Regions from separate parts of the Homo sapiens genome. Here all the other regions are linked to region 4. Evidence: promoter capture Hi-C in 16 types of primary human blood cells and fetal thymus (Javierre and others, 2016). All regions are on one chromosome and are shown on one strand. Each heading gives the region's core, a stretch centred on a gene start or on the middle of the fragment in contact. The rest is flanking DNA. Distances are from core to core; before and after follow the strand shown. Region 1 holds the start of STEEP1 (STING1 ER exit protein 1). Region 2 overlaps SEPTIN6 (septin 6). Region 3 has its middle 1.6 kb from the start of SOWAHD. Region 4 holds the start of DOCK11 (dedicator of cytokinesis 11). Region 5 overlaps UBE2A (ubiquitin conjugating enzyme E2 A).

Region 1 (2,904 bases), core at 232-2,731, 1.1 Mb after region 4:
TTAAAAAGGCACTGGGGGGCAGGAACACTTTTGACATGATGGAGAAAAAGCAAAAAGGCCACTGTGGCTGAAGTGCGATGAGCAAGAGGAAGACTGTTAGGGAATGAAGCCTGAGAGGTAGCCACAGGCCTGATCAAGGGTCTTGGTATGGATGGACTTTGGTTTTATTCTCAGTGTTATATGAAACCATTGGTTTTGAACAGGACTCTGGCTACTATGTGGAAAAGAGTGGAAGCAACGAGAGCAAGAGACTATTGTGCCAATCCAGGTGAAAGATGGTAGTAGCTTGGACTACAGTGTTAGAAGTGGAGGTGGTAGGCCGGCCGTGGTGGCTCATGCCTGTAATCCCAGCACTTTGGGAGGCCTAGGTGGGTGGATCACTTGAGGTCAGGAGTTCAAGACCAGTCTGGCCAACATGGTGAAACCCCATCTCTACTAAAAATACAAAATTAGCCGGGCGTGGTGGCACATGCCTGTAATCCCAGCTACTAGGGAGGTTGAGGCAGGAGAATCGCTTGAACCTGGGAGGTGGAAGTTGCAGTGAGCCGAGATCGCACCACTGCACTCCAGCCTGGGCAAGAAGAGCGAAACTCCATCTCAAAAAAAAAAAGAAAAAAAAAAAAACTAGCCGGGCCTGGTGGCGCACACTACTTGGGAGGCTGAGGCAGGAGAATCGCTTGAACCTGGGAGGCGGAAGTTGCAGTGAGCTGAGACCGCGCCACAGCACTCCAGCCTGGGTGACAGAGTGAGACTCCCTCTGTCTCAAAAAGAAAAAGGAATGGAGGTGGTAAGAAGCAGTCAGATCCTGCATACATTTTCACGAAAGCACCTGCAGGATTTCCTGATGGACTGGACAGATGTAAGGTACGTGACAGACAGAAGTCAAGACTGATTCCAGGTTTTGGTCTGAGATACTGGATGAATAGTTGTACTACTGACTGCAATAGGGATGACTATAAGAGGAGCAATTGGAGAGGGGGTGTAGAGGGTCATGAACTCAATTTTCAGCACGATATATTTGAGAGGCCCATTAGACATTCAAGTGGAGATGTTGAATAGGCAATTGGAGTCTCAGGAGAGGTGCAGGTTAAAGATGAACATCTGGGAGTTACCAGCATGTCAGTTGTATTTAAAGCTTGGGAATGAATGAGATCACCTAGGGGGTGGGTACAGAGTGAGAACAGGTGAGAGTACTGAGCTATAGGGCCTTGGAATGCCTAAAAGTCTGAGAGAGAAAAGGGAGCCAGACAAGGGGAAAAATCTAAGGCTGGGCGCGGTGGCTCACGCCTGTAATCCCAGCACCTTGGGAGGCCGAGGCGGGTGGATCACGAGGTCAGGAGTTCGAGACCAGCCTGGCCAACGTAGTGAAACCCCCGTCTCTACTAAAAACACAAAAATTAGCCGGGCATGGTGGCGGGCGCCTGTAATCCCAGCTACTCGGGAGGCTGAGGCAGGAGAATCACTTGAATCCGGGAGGCAGAGCTTGCAGTGAGCCGAGATTGCACCACTGCACTCCAGCCTGGGCAGCAGAGTGAGACTCCATCTGAAAAAAAAGGGGGGGGGGAAATACGAGGTAGGAGGAAAATCAAGTGAGTATGGAGTCTTGGAAGCAAATAAAAAACATGTTGCAAAAGGAATGAAATGATTACCTCTGTCAAATGCCACTGACAGAATTAAAATGAACATTGATAACTGACCACTAGAACTGTTAACATGGAGCCAAATACGGTTAAGATGATGAGGTGGGAAGGAAAGCCTACCTGAAGTGAGGTCAGGAGAGAATTAGAAGTCAGGATGCAGAGACAGCCAATATAGGCAACTCTTTTGAGAAGCTTTGCTATAAAAGAAGCAACGAAATGGGGTTATAGCTGGAGGGGAATACAGGATCGAGGGAGGGTTTTATTTTCGTTTGCTGTGAGGTAAGAGCAACTGCAGCATCTTGGTATCCAGCAGAAAAGTTATAAAGCTTCTAGAGGCAGTAGTTTTTGAAGACAGTGGATTAAGAGGGAAATACAATATGTTTGTGTTTCTATTTTTGTTCTCCTGAAGGAGTTTAGTTTTGAGGAAGGTCTGGATACAGAGTCACAAGGCTAAACAAAAAGCAGGAAAAAAAAAAATGCCCTGGAGTGGGGCGGGGATGCGTAGGGAGGATTTAGTCGGAGAGAGAAAACCCACCAATCTTCGTTGAGAAGTGGCTCCCAGATCACAGCCAGAGGAAATTCGCCTTCAAGAACCCGAAGTCTGGCTCCTTGCAGACGCCCCCGCAGTTCCCGGCTACTCACCCAGCACTAGGACCATCTGGCCGCACAAACAGTAGTAAACATGGAGGGGCTTCTCGCCGTCGTCATATTCCTCCCGGTCCCGAGTGTCAGAGCAGACTACTGACCGAGACACTACTTTCGGCATGATTCCCAAGAGCAATCTGAAAACTCTACGCCAAGAAGAGGGTCGCCCCGAAATGACGTCACGAGTGCGCCTTGCACCTTTTCCTTGTGGCTACGCTGGTCACGTGTTAGCAGAAGTCTTATAAACTTCCGGGCTGTCCTATCAGGCTAAGATATACGGGGGTGCGCCTGGAGCCTCCCAGAACCTACTTTGTCTTGGCCAAGTTAGCTGGGACTCCTGTGATCTGGGAGTCACTTCTCAATGAAGATTGGTGGGCTTTCTCACAACACCCTTAATATTATATAAATTCTTTACATTTCTATAACGCATGCATTTATATGTATATATACACATATGTATATATAAGACCAGCTAAATAAAGGACTATGCATTATATAGTTTATATTATATATATATATATATATATATGATACTGATTTGGGTGTGTTTCTAAATATGATTGTGATTTTAATGACTATTCCAGATGAGTACATAATTTTTTAGGTATCTTATTTTTTA
Region 2 (2,739 bases), core at 240-2,739, 1.2 Mb after region 4:
GAGACTCCACAAAGTAAATGCTATGCACATGACTGCAGATCAAAATCTCATTAGATGATACAGACAAATCACTCTGCTATAATGTAGTTTTGTATTAAGAACACCGCTAACACTCACATTTCCAGGATTTAGGATGTAAAAAGGAAACAGGGCTTATTCCTGCCTTTCATCTGGAAGCTGTGAGAGGGCAGAGTTCCTGCGTGCCTTGGCCACCACTATATCCTCAGCACCTGGCACGGGGCCTGGCCGATCAGTGCCCAGTGAATATGTGCTGAAGGAATGAATGAAAATAAAAGTGGGTGAATTGGCAAATGAAATGTTCCCAACCCAGTAGCAGATGTGAGATCTCACCCACCTTCACACCTACCCATTTCCTATTTGAAGCCCTCAGGAAGCCCTTCCTGTCACCCTCTGCCTCCATTCATTGCTGAGTTAGGTTCCCTTAGTAATGAAATCTCATGGCAGGCAGTCACTCTCCTGTGTAGCACTTATCACAAAGATAATTAGATAGTGATTTGTGTCTGCCTCCACCAGTTCCTTGAAAGAAGGGACCATGTGCATTTGGGGGACATTGTCATTCTGCCCGCTTTTTATTTTGAAAAATCCCAGGCCGGGCGCTGTGGCTCACACCTGTAATCCCAGGACTTTGAGAGGCCAAGGTGGGCAGATCACGAGGTCAGGAGTTCGAGACCAGCCTGGCCAACATGGTGAAACCCTGTTTCTACTAAAAATACAAAAATTAGCTGGGCACGGTGGTGCACACCTGTAATCCCAGCTACTCGGGAGGCTGAGGCAGGATAATTTCTTGAACCCAGGAGGCGGAGGTTGCAGTGAGCTGAGATCGCGCCACTGCATTCCAGCCTGGGCGACAGAACAAGACTCCATCTCGGGGAAAAAAAAAAAAAAAAGGAAAAGAAGAAAAGAAACATCCCAAACACACAGAGAAGTTAGAAAATAATGTAATGACTGTCCAAAAACCCCTCAAATTTAGAATCAACATTTTTAAATATTTAGGGCCATGTAAACTTTCTTCCGTGTTGTATCACCAATAGAGCTAGGTAATAGGGTTTTGTTTTCTATGTTTGAGGTACGATACTACCTTTAGTGGGTGGTGGTAGGAACGCCTGAAGCAGAGACCTCAAAGGGAATCAAAGGGTAACTGCCACGTGATGATAGCAAAACCAGAGTGCAGCAGCAATCTTTTCCCCACCTGAAGACAGTTGCTCTGAGACAGTTGACCCAGACCAACCCCAGCTAACTTTGTAGGGCAAAGTTAGCCCCTGAAAGTTCACTTGGGAGAATGACCACTACCTAGATTGCCACTAGAGAAAGCTTCATTGTTCACATTGTGGGACTAGTTCAAGCCAGAATCATCCAGATGCTCTTGGTATGGGCCGGCATTTACGGTCTGGATCCCAGAATGCAACATTGAAAGGAACAGCTCATTAAAAGAGCCAGCACATGCAGCTTTTGGGGCTTGCCCTGTGCCTTGGTTACCTTGGACAAGTCATGGAACCTCTCGAAATATATATTAATAGCAGCCCAAGCCACCTCATAGTCAGGGGGTGAGGTGGGGCATCACAAGGATCTTCTATAGTTCTTTAATTATTTCACAGTGTCCACAATTTGTCATTCCAACTAGACTATAAGCTTAAAAGCCACGAACTTTTTTTTGTTTTGTTTTTTGAGACGGATTCCCACTCTGTCGCCCAGGCTGGAGTGTAGTGGCACGATCTCGGCTCACTGCAAGTGCCGCCTCCCAGGTTCACACCCTCAGCCTCCACAGTAGCTGGGACTACAGGTGCCCGCCACCACGCCTGGCTAATTTTTTGTATTTTTAGTAGAGATGAGATTTAACCATGTTAGCCAGGCTGGTCTCGATCTCCTGACTTTGTGATCCACCCACCTCGGCCTCTTTTTTTTCTTTTTTGAGATGGAGTCTCGCTCTGTTGCCCAGGCTGGAGTGCAGTGGTGCAATCTTGGCTCACTGCAACCTCTGCCTCCAGGGTTCAAGCGATTCTTCTGCCTCAGCCTCCTGAGTAGCTGTGATTACAGGCACGCACCACCACGCCTGGCTAATTTTTGTATTTTTAGTAGATACGGGGTTTCACCATGTTGGCCAGGCTGGTCTCGAACTCCTGACCTCATGATCTGCCCACCTCAGCCTCCCAAAGTGCTGGGATTACAGGCATGAGCCACCAAGCCCAGTCCGATCACGAACGTTTTTTAAAGCCTGCTACCTTTTTTTGTCCAGTTGACAAGGGCTAACCATAGTGCTGGCCACATATCAGTCAATCAAGTAAATATGGACACAGTGGAGAAATGGTGTTGTCACACCAAACCGTTTGTGGTGTTCATTCAAATGGGACGGACTTGTATTATGTGCACCAGAATTGAACTTCCAAGTTGGCTGCGTGCAATGTAAGCCCTACCCAACAACTTGAAGGCTTGTTTTAGTCACTAAGGATGTTTACCCACAGTGACTCTCAACTGATTCTAGAAAGAACACACCCCCCACATACATACACATACACACACACACACACACACACACACACACACACACACACTAGGGCACTTACTCGCATGGTACCACGTCTCAGAGCTCATTAAAAAGAATTCCTGGCCGGGAGCAGTGGCTCATGCCTGTAATCCCAACACTTTGGGAGGCTGAGGCGGGTGGATCACAAGGTCAGGAGTTCGAGACCAGCCTGGCCAACATGGTGAAAACCCCCCTCT
Region 3 (2,794 bases), core at 13-2,512, 1.3 Mb after region 4:
GAGCCACCGCGCCCAGCCGATCTCTTCTAGTTCTAATAGTCCAAGATCTAGTAAATAAACCCACAAATATATTAGAGAGGCTGCTATTTGGAAAAGACATCAGTATTATTACAATTTGCAATGCAAATATCTACTCTACCTCCAGCTTTTTGGGAAGTCATTTCCCAGGGCTTGAGGGGTTTTTGCCCCACTCCCTTGGAGGGGTAGCAGATGTTTCAGATAACTGGCATGTTAATTTTAGGTGGGTGGGTACTATCCCTTCTGTTTTCCACTCCCTCTGCCCTACTCCCTGCTATCAAATTCCTGAGACCCTCTCTACTAAAATAGAGATGGGTGTTGCGGTTCTGGGGAGTGGTGTGTGCAGCTGGTGACCTAGGGTAGAAAGCACTTGCTAATTAAAGATGAAACAAGTTGCTAGGGAGGCACCGTGGCTTTGGTCTCTAGCAGCAGAGTTAAGCAAGGGCACATGTATCATGGGTCTGTGGCACTGGTCAGGCGGCTGCCTTTGCAATCTTTGAACTGGAAACAGATATTATTCATGCTGATAGGGAAGAGAGTTGCCTGCTTAGTGGTGACGAAAATTAATAGTCCAAGCATTCTTCCATCCTGCATTTTCCATGCTGGCATTTTGACTTAAAAAAAAATATTGCTGCAGCTGTTTGCATATTCTGGAAGTGTGTGTGCCTGTGTGCGGTTTGGTGTTTACAGATCTGGGGTTGCGGAGAGGAGTCTCCAGAGCAACGGAAGTAGCTGCTTGTCAGTCAGGATTCATTTTGAAAATGAAAGCCTGAAAGCTTGGGGCCCATTCTGGGCCTAGGCCTGGTCTCTGAGAAGTCAGCGAAGGCCAGGAGGTGGCTTTGGCCAGTCAACTCAGTGAATAAACCACTGAATCTCTTTTAAAGAAAAATGAATTGACCAAATCTATGAGTTGCTTTTGATGTCCTGCAGATTGGAGTCTGGAGCAGGGATGTGGGAGCAGGCATTGAGGTGCTGATTGTGGATACATGTCCCCCGCCCCCAACATACACACACACAATCACATTTTCCCAGCCTGCCAAACCAGAACAAGGTAACAAATATTTCTTGGATAACTACTAGGTGCACAAGGATAGTATGACATAGCTGTCCAAGAGTTTATAGTTTAATTGGCATATGAGAGCAAGGGGAGAGAGATGTAACACAAGGCAGTCTTGGGGCCAAAGAAGTAGCAGAAACACAGGGCTGGGGAAAGAGAGGGATCACTTTGGGCTGGGATAATCAGAGGAGGCTTGCTAGAGGTGGAAACTAAGCGCAACCTTGAAAGAAAAGAACTTCACTACATAGAAGCTCTTCCAGGCAGAGGAGTGTAAGTTATAGATACGCTCACGTTACAAGTCTATCCTTTTGGCTGGAATTTGGGGCTTGTATGTGATTTGCAGTTGATAAGCCAGGCTTGAATGCCAGTTCCTGTGTACCAGAACAAAGGCTATGGTGTCGCACAGACCTGCTCTGCCACTTCCTGCTGGGTGACCTTGAGCAAGTAGCCTAACCTCTCTGCAAACTGGGGACAGTAATGATTCCCAGCACTTGAGGTCACTGGGAGGATTAAAAGAGTTAACATATATAACGCAACAAGCACAGTGCCTGGCACATAGTAAATGTTCAAAACCAAATTACAAATGCATAAACTGTTCTGAAGGAAAGCTCTAGATATTTAGGACTTGTTCCAAATACGTGAGGGCCAAGGAAGAAAAGCTTCCGATACCTTCTATCACTGCTGCCACAGGTGGCCCCGAGGGAGTGGGCTGATTTGGCCTGAGCCTCCATCCCCCTTGGCCTAGACTGCTGGAACAGTCTTCCGACTTCCTGCCTCTGCACCTCCCAAATCACCTTTTTAACACAACCTCCATCATGGCTGTGTCTCTCCCCGGCTCAACAATCTTCTATGGCTCCCCGTTGCTCACTGACTGAGCTCCTTAAGATGCTGGGGGTGTGGAGGCAAGAACCACTATTTACTAAGGGAAGGGAAGAGCAAAGAGTACGCTGGTATTAGGAGTGAAAAAGAAAAAATATCCTTTTTTAAAAAGCCCCTAAGCTTTGAATTTGTAGAAAGCGGGGCCCTGGGGAGAGAGCAGGGATGCATCTCTAAAGAGAACAGGGCGCTCCTGCGGCGCCGGCTCAGATTCACCTGTAGCTGCTTCTCCAAGCCAACCTGGGAAAATTGACGGGAGGGAAGAGGGTGGAGAGCAGGACAGAGAGGGCGGTGCAGAAGGGGAATATCCCTCCTGAGTTCCCTGGAAGAGCGTCAGCCTGGACCCTGGTCTTGGGCTTCTCTGCTGGAATCCTGGGCAGCCCCGGGTGCTGCGGCGAGGGTCAAGGCCACACAAAGGGCAAGGCAGGCAGACGAGCCAGTCACATGGGGCAGTCGAGCTGCCTGCGTGAATGCTAGGCGCGGGACAATGGCAACTCCGGGACAAAGTGCAGGGAGACTCCTGAAGAGATAAGAGGGAAGGGCGAAGGAAGGGGGCGGGGAGCCAGAGCCTCGGAGCTCCAGGACCGCGCTTTGGGAGACCGTGGCTGGAAGCCGAGCTCGGCCCGCTGCGGAAGGGGCGCCCTCGCGCCTCTACACTCTAGCCCCGGCTGGGATGCTGAGAACCGCGGCTTCCAGGGCCGCAGGCGAGCTCCCAGCCAGTCCCCGCGCCCGCCCTTCGGTGCTGGAGGCGGGGCTGCCGAGCTCACCTGGCCGTTTGGGGTGGGACCGCCCGCGACCCGGGGGAGCTGCAGAGGCGGCGGTACCCAGGGAAGTGGAGCTGGG
Region 4 (2,700 bases), core at 120-2,619:
GGTTCAAAGAAACCATCACCACGCATGCCCTTGTTTCCATAATAAAGTCCCCTAAAAGACTGTTTGGTCTTTGAGGGTGGGGAAAGTGCCCGATGGGTGGTGGTAGGACTGCTTTCAGAAGGGCTGCTCGGTCCCCCAGACTGAGGGCCATTTTCAAACTCTCAACAAATGAAATAACCAGATAGAAAACTGCCACCATCAGTGGAGCCTTTCACTCTGCACTTCAGGAGGTCTGACAGGGTCACTAGTACTTCAAGATTCCCGTCCCTATTTCTGTCTTAAGCATGTTCGTTTTATACCCTGTTATGAGATGTTCTTTGATTCTTGGAAAAACAATTTCTTGGAAGCTGAAAAGAGTAAGGAGATGAATAGGAAATGGAGAGGTGAGTGCAGGGCACTTGTAAAAGCTACTATAAGATTGGTAAGTCCACCAAACCCAGGGAGATGGCCTTCCTAATGCCCACCCCCACCCCACTCCTGGTGCAGTCAGTGCTGACCTAGGGATCACCTGCCACAGGCTCATCCTAATGCCCACCCCCACCCCACTCCTGGTGCAGTCAGTGCTGACCTAGGGATCACCTGCCACAGGCTCAGGCTCCACCACCCAGCTCTCCCCCGTGGGGGACGGAGCGAGGGGTGCCGCCACAATAAGTTCCCACTTCCAGAAGCATGCTCTCTCCCCAGTGTTGCCCCCTGTTAGGTGAGCCAACTGAGTAGGAAAACGGTGTGGGCGAGGAGGGGGACCCAGTCGAGCCGCTCACGCTGGAAAGCAGCTCTCTGTCCTTCGACATTGGTGCGACCCTTCCCCAAGGAGCACACAAAAGGCGGCTGCTCCACGTTGTTTTCCAGCCCCTAGCCGCCTGGGCCCTGGGGGCTTGCGGGGTGGAGGGACGTGAGAGTTCTCCAGCCCTCCTGCGGGCACTGCAGCTCGGAGGCGGGAGAGGAGCACTAGGGCGGGAGAGGAGCACGCCCCACTCTTGGAGACATTTCATCACCCCTCTCTGTTCCCCCACCCCACCCCGCCCTCCCCACTCAAGCGGAAAAAAAGAAGCAGCCCAGATCTCCCCTCCCGGATGCGGCTGCACCAGCAACATCAGCTGCGGGCGGAGCCCGAGCGGTAGCCACTTCCCCCCTCTTCCCTCGTGACCCTCGCCCCCACCTCCAGTTCTCCCTCCCCCTCTACACACCCTTCCCCATCAGACACACCCTCCTGCTTCGGCTGGTGGCGATCGGAGCTCGGGCCCTCTAGGGGAGGGAGCTGCCGCCGCCGACGCCGTGGGGCAGGACAGTGAGCGGGCGAAGCGAGCGAGAAAAGGAGGGAAGGAGGGAACGAGGGAGGAGCAGCGGGTGGGAGGTGGGAGGGAGGAGCAGCGTGAGCCGCGCCGCCGCCGAGCTGCGATGTGGCCGGCCGGCCGGCGAGTAAACAGAGGGAGCAGCAGCGGCCGCGGCCGCCGCGGGCCGGGGCAGTGAGTCCACCCGCCCGCCGAGGTCCGCCCGCCCGCCGAGACCCGCCCGCCGCCGCTGCCATGGCCGAAGTGCGCAAATTCACCAAACGGCTCAGCAAGCCTGGCACGGCGGCTGAGCTCCGGCAGAGCGTGTCTGAGGCCGTGCGGGGCTCCGTGGTGCTGGTGAGTGGCCGGGGGACGGGGCATCCCGGGGGACGCGCTCCAGGCGGGAGCGACGCGGGAAGGGGCAGGAACGGCGCCAGTGCGGCCGCTTGGTGCGCCGCGCGCTGTCTTTCTCCGCTCCAGTAAGTTTTCGCACCGGCAGCCGCCGGCCGGGGTCCGAGTCCCAGGCGCCGGCTGACAGCTCTCCGGCCGCCCGGCACGGCGGAGGCGTGCGCCGGGATGGAAGCAGACGGGCAAAAGCCGGGCTCGGACGGCTGCGGAGGAGGCGGAGGCGGAGGCTCCCACCCAGGGTCGGGGCCGGGGGTGTGAGCTAAAGAGCTGACCTCGCGCTGCTCTGGACTCGGCACAAAGAGCCGGGGACAAGGGCACGACGAGATCCTGATCCCCTCCCGCGAGCACCTGAGGCCGCCTAGGCGGAAGGATGCGATGAGCGTTTGGCACACACACTCTCGCGCGCACACATACACACACTGTGTACACAAAAAAGAACCCCACCCAGAAAGCCCCGGGCGCCCAAGCTCGGGCTGGCGGTGAGAACAGAGGAAGCAGAGCGACTTCCTCCTGCAACTGGGGAGAGAGGGTGGTGATGGGTGTTGAAGGGGTGCTGCTGCGGAGGAAGGGCATTAGAAACAACGGGGTTCTGCGACAGAGTGGGCGCAGGGTCATCCACCGCAGGGAGAGTGTGTCCCTCGGGGACACGCGAGCGCTCCAGAGGCAAGGGGACCAAGGGGACGGTGCCGTGGGGATTTGGGGGAAGACTGGGTGTGTCAGTCCAGGGATGGAGGACCTGGGGTCAGAGCCCCACAGCTCAGGACTGGGGGATGGGGATTCGAAAGCGCGCTGACTCCCTGGGAACCCTCCCAGAGCACCCTCAGCCTTATCCAGATTGTCTGACTCTGGAGAAAGGCTAAAGGGTGCTAACGGGCACTTGCCCCTTCTCTTGTTTTCAAGACACTCGTTGCCAGTTTCCTGGACAAGCGAACAAACCCTGAATAAGCAATCGGACTGATTAATTAGTGTTTGTTTTGTTACTTTGTTTTTTGGTTGTTGTTTTTGTTTGTTTTTGTCTCCC
Region 5 (2,856 bases), core at 127-2,626, 1.1 Mb after region 4:
TGGAGTCTGGGAGCCTCCTGATTTTGATGACCTTTGTCATTTACTTATTAAACAAAATGAAGGATGCTCTTGAGGTTTCCTTTTAATGCTAGGCCAGATTGGGATAGTCTTGTGTTGTAATTATTTTCACTAGCGTTTAGAAAAGTAGTTTTCATTGGACGCATATCAGAATTACTGTGGAACATTTTAAAAACACAGATGCCTTCGCCCCACTCCAAACCTAATGAATAGGATTCTGTTGTTGAAGGCCAGGCATACGGTATTGTCAGAAAAGCACCACAGGTGATTCTAACTTAACCACTTTGCACTTTTTAAAATAGTAGTAAGCCTAGAACAGCTTGCCTTTTATTTAGGTTAATGAAGTATTTTTCAGGGTATCAGATATGTTTATCTTTATGCCAAAATGAAATCTTGTGAACTCTGAGTGATCTTTTGTTATTTCAGATAGGGGATACAGCCTACAAATTTGGTGGAATGAATTTCCCACATGTCTGTGGATAGCTAGGGACCCTGTTCAAAAATGTTTCTGATTTCCTGGATAATAGGGCAGCCTTTTCCAAAGGATGAACACTAAATATCTTCCAGTTTTATACTGATCACATCTGACATTCTCTGATCATCCTGATTATTTCACTAGTGGTGGTTATGACTTATCTTTTTAGGCAGTTAACTGGGAAGCAACATAGGAATCTTTAAACTTCAAAAGCAAAGTATTCTTGACTATTTTTGTTTTGTCTATAATGTTAAAACCTTAGTGGTCTTGTTACGTTTAATGTACCTACTTCTTTGTTCTTAGTCTATGCAGATGGTAGTATATGTCTGGACATACTTCAGAACCGTTGGAGTCCAACCTATGATGTGTCTTCCATTCTAACATCCATACAGGTGAATTTTTCCTTAATGTGACGAACTATAACTTTTAATATGTTTATATTAGCAATTGAATTGTTTTTGAAAGTCATAATGTAATAGATCTTTTTATTTTTGGTCAAAGCTTGTTTGTTTTATAGATGAAAAGTAGACCATTAAGACCCAAGTCAGCTGGGTACAGTCGCTCACACCTGTAACCTCAGCACTTTGGCAGGCCAAGGTGGGAGGATTGCTTGAGTTCAGGAGTTTGAGACCAGCCTGGGCAACATAGTGAGACTCTTCTCCCTTAAAAAAAAAAAAAGCCGCATATATTTTCCTAGCTACTAGCAGATTCACATAACTCTGGGTTTGTATGCTAAAGACAAGAAATGTAGCTGTACTTAGGACAATTCAATTGAGTGTCACTACCTTATAAAATAGTTGTTTTGCATTAAGGAACTGACATTTTAAAAATTGTCTCTTTAGTCTCTGTTGGATGAACCCAATCCCAATAGTCCAGCAAACAGCCAGGCTGCTCAGCTGTACCAGGAGAACAAACGGGAATATGAAAAGCGTGTTTCTGCAATAGTAGAACAAAGCTGGCGTGATTGTTGACCCCGGGTACAGTTTAAAGAAGCTGGCCATAAGAAAAATATATATTGATGTGTTTGTCACCTCCCTACTCCTGTCATTACATTTACTTTATTAAAAGCAAAATAACTGTTGTGCTGTTTCCATCTTCCTTGCCAAGTTTTCCTACCCCTTCTACCCTCTCCTTAAACATCAGAAAACACCCTCTATGAAATCAAATGTACTGTACCTGGGTTACTTGCAAAAATTACTAATGCTTCAGTTTTTCTGTTGTATTTCATTTCCAGTTTTCAGGCAGTTATTTTTATTATTGTACTTTAAGCTTTTAAGATGAATTGTTATACAAGAGGTGCTTATGCTTAGCTTGATGACCAGGATGTTATTTTTAACAAAATGATTGCTGAAGTGTTTCATCCTGGCTGGTCCTTCACTTGTGTTGGATTTAGAAGTGAATGTGTTTGGAATATGGCCTACAGAGAATAGAAACAAATCCATGTAAACAATTTTGAAGGAGGCATGGGAGCTAAAAATCCTGTGATACTAAGATCTCAGTCATATGAATTACAACGTAGTATTTACTGGCAAGAAGGAGAAAGTTGAAGGACTCAGCTAAAGGAGTACAGCAATTGTAGTAACTGACACATCCTCTCTTTGCAAGCTGCTGACTGGGCACACTCATGCCAAGTTTCAGAATTATTGGTCTTCTGGGTTTTTGCTTTTTAAAAGAGGTGTGGGAGCAGAGGAATGGAAACAATCGTGAGTTTTTGAGCTAGGGAAAGTTGGAGCTCCTTTAATCTTTTTAAAGGATCAGTGCTGCCCTAAGTGAATAAACTCAATTGTCCATCTTTATTTTAGAGTTTTAATGAATTCAAGGAAGGGAGCATAGCATATCTGTGGCAAACTATTTTCCACTCAAATCCTGAGTTATTGCTGCATGCTTTAATTTCTTCCCTTTCAGCATCTGAGAACCTTAAAGCCAATGTCTGCGATCTTTTTTTGGATATTTATACTTTTAGATATATAGTACCTTTAAGTAGCAGTATGGGACAAGGCTTGTAAATGTTTTGTCTAATGTTCTATTGTCACCTTTTATGCATTTATCACTTCCAAATCTAACTTTGCACAAGTAACCCATGTAAAAAAAAATGTACATTTTTCAAAAGTTGTAAATAAAAATAACCTTAAAATTTCATAGTCAAGGTATCTTTTTTTTTTTTTTTTTAGCTCAGTATAAACTTTTTGTATTGGTTTCTTATTGGGATCTCATATGTACTCATTTCCCCCCTCAAACATTAAGGTAAAAGCAAAAATACTCATTCTGGGAGGGGAAAAGACAAGACAGATACTTCTGGAGAGAACTTTTTTTTTCTTTCCAGTCATAAGTGGTAATGCTTTTTAAATATATTAACAGAATAT

What was found. The method cuts DNA at HindIII sites, captures the fragments that hold promoters and counts their contacts. A CHiCAGO score of 5 or more calls a contact.
Region 1: a contact is called between a fragment that was not itself captured here and the fragment with the promoter of DOCK11 in region 4, in 1 of 17 cell types (activated CD4 T cells). The highest score is 5.9, in activated CD4 T cells.
Region 2: a fragment that was not itself captured here is called in contact with the fragment with the promoter of DOCK11 in region 4 in 2 of 17 cell types (activated CD4 T cells and total CD8 T cells); the score reaches 7.0 in activated CD4 T cells.
Region 3: a contact is called between a fragment that was not itself captured here and the fragment with the promoter of DOCK11 in region 4, in 2 of 17 cell types (non-activated CD4 T cells and activated CD4 T cells). The highest score is 6.2, in non-activated CD4 T cells.
Region 5: a fragment that was not itself captured here is called in contact with the fragment with the promoter of DOCK11 in region 4 in 1 of 17 cell types (activated CD4 T cells); the score reaches 8.8 in activated CD4 T cells.

What each region holds. Positions count from the first base shown.
Region 1 is chrX:119,562,950-119,565,853 of GRCh38, forward strand. STEEP1 (STING1 ER exit protein 1) reads right to left here and starts at 2,460. Exons shown (of 7, transcript NM_022101.4): 1 at 2,283-2,460. The coding sequence starts at 2,406. The HindIII fragment of the contact is 697 bases long and covers 1,134-1,830 here.
Region 2 is chrX:119,687,819-119,690,557 of GRCh38, forward strand. The region is part of intron 1 of SEPTIN6 (septin 6); the gene reads right to left. Among named protein-coding and RNA genes, the nearest start is that of SEPTIN6, 4.0 kb to the right of the region's middle. The HindIII fragment of the contact is 318 bases long and covers 1,331-1,648 here.
Region 3 is chrX:119,755,627-119,758,420 of GRCh38, forward strand. No RefSeq gene overlaps it. Among named protein-coding and RNA genes, the nearest start is that of SOWAHD, 1.6 kb to the right of the region's middle. RefSeq lists enhancers at 486-545, 556-755 and a silencer at 2,712-2,794. The HindIII fragment of the contact is 940 bases long and covers 793-1,732 here.
Region 4 is chrX:118,494,446-118,497,145 of GRCh38, forward strand. DOCK11 (dedicator of cytokinesis 11) reads left to right here and starts at 1,370. Exons shown (of 53, transcript NM_144658.4): 1 at 1,370-1,628. The coding sequence starts at 1,527. RefSeq lists enhancers at 708-777, 1,180-2,158 and silencers at 1,188-1,327, 1,438-1,517, 1,608-1,667, 1,838-1,897. The HindIII fragment of the contact is 5,195 bases long and covers 1-2,700 here.
Region 5 is chrX:119,581,792-119,584,647 of GRCh38, forward strand. UBE2A (ubiquitin conjugating enzyme E2 A) reads left to right here. Exons shown (of 6, transcript NM_003336.4): 5 at 797-885; 6 at 1,336-2,632. The coding sequence ends at 1,464. Among named protein-coding and RNA genes, the nearest start is that of UBE2A, 8.7 kb to the left of the region's middle. The HindIII fragment of the contact is 768 bases long and covers 993-1,760 here.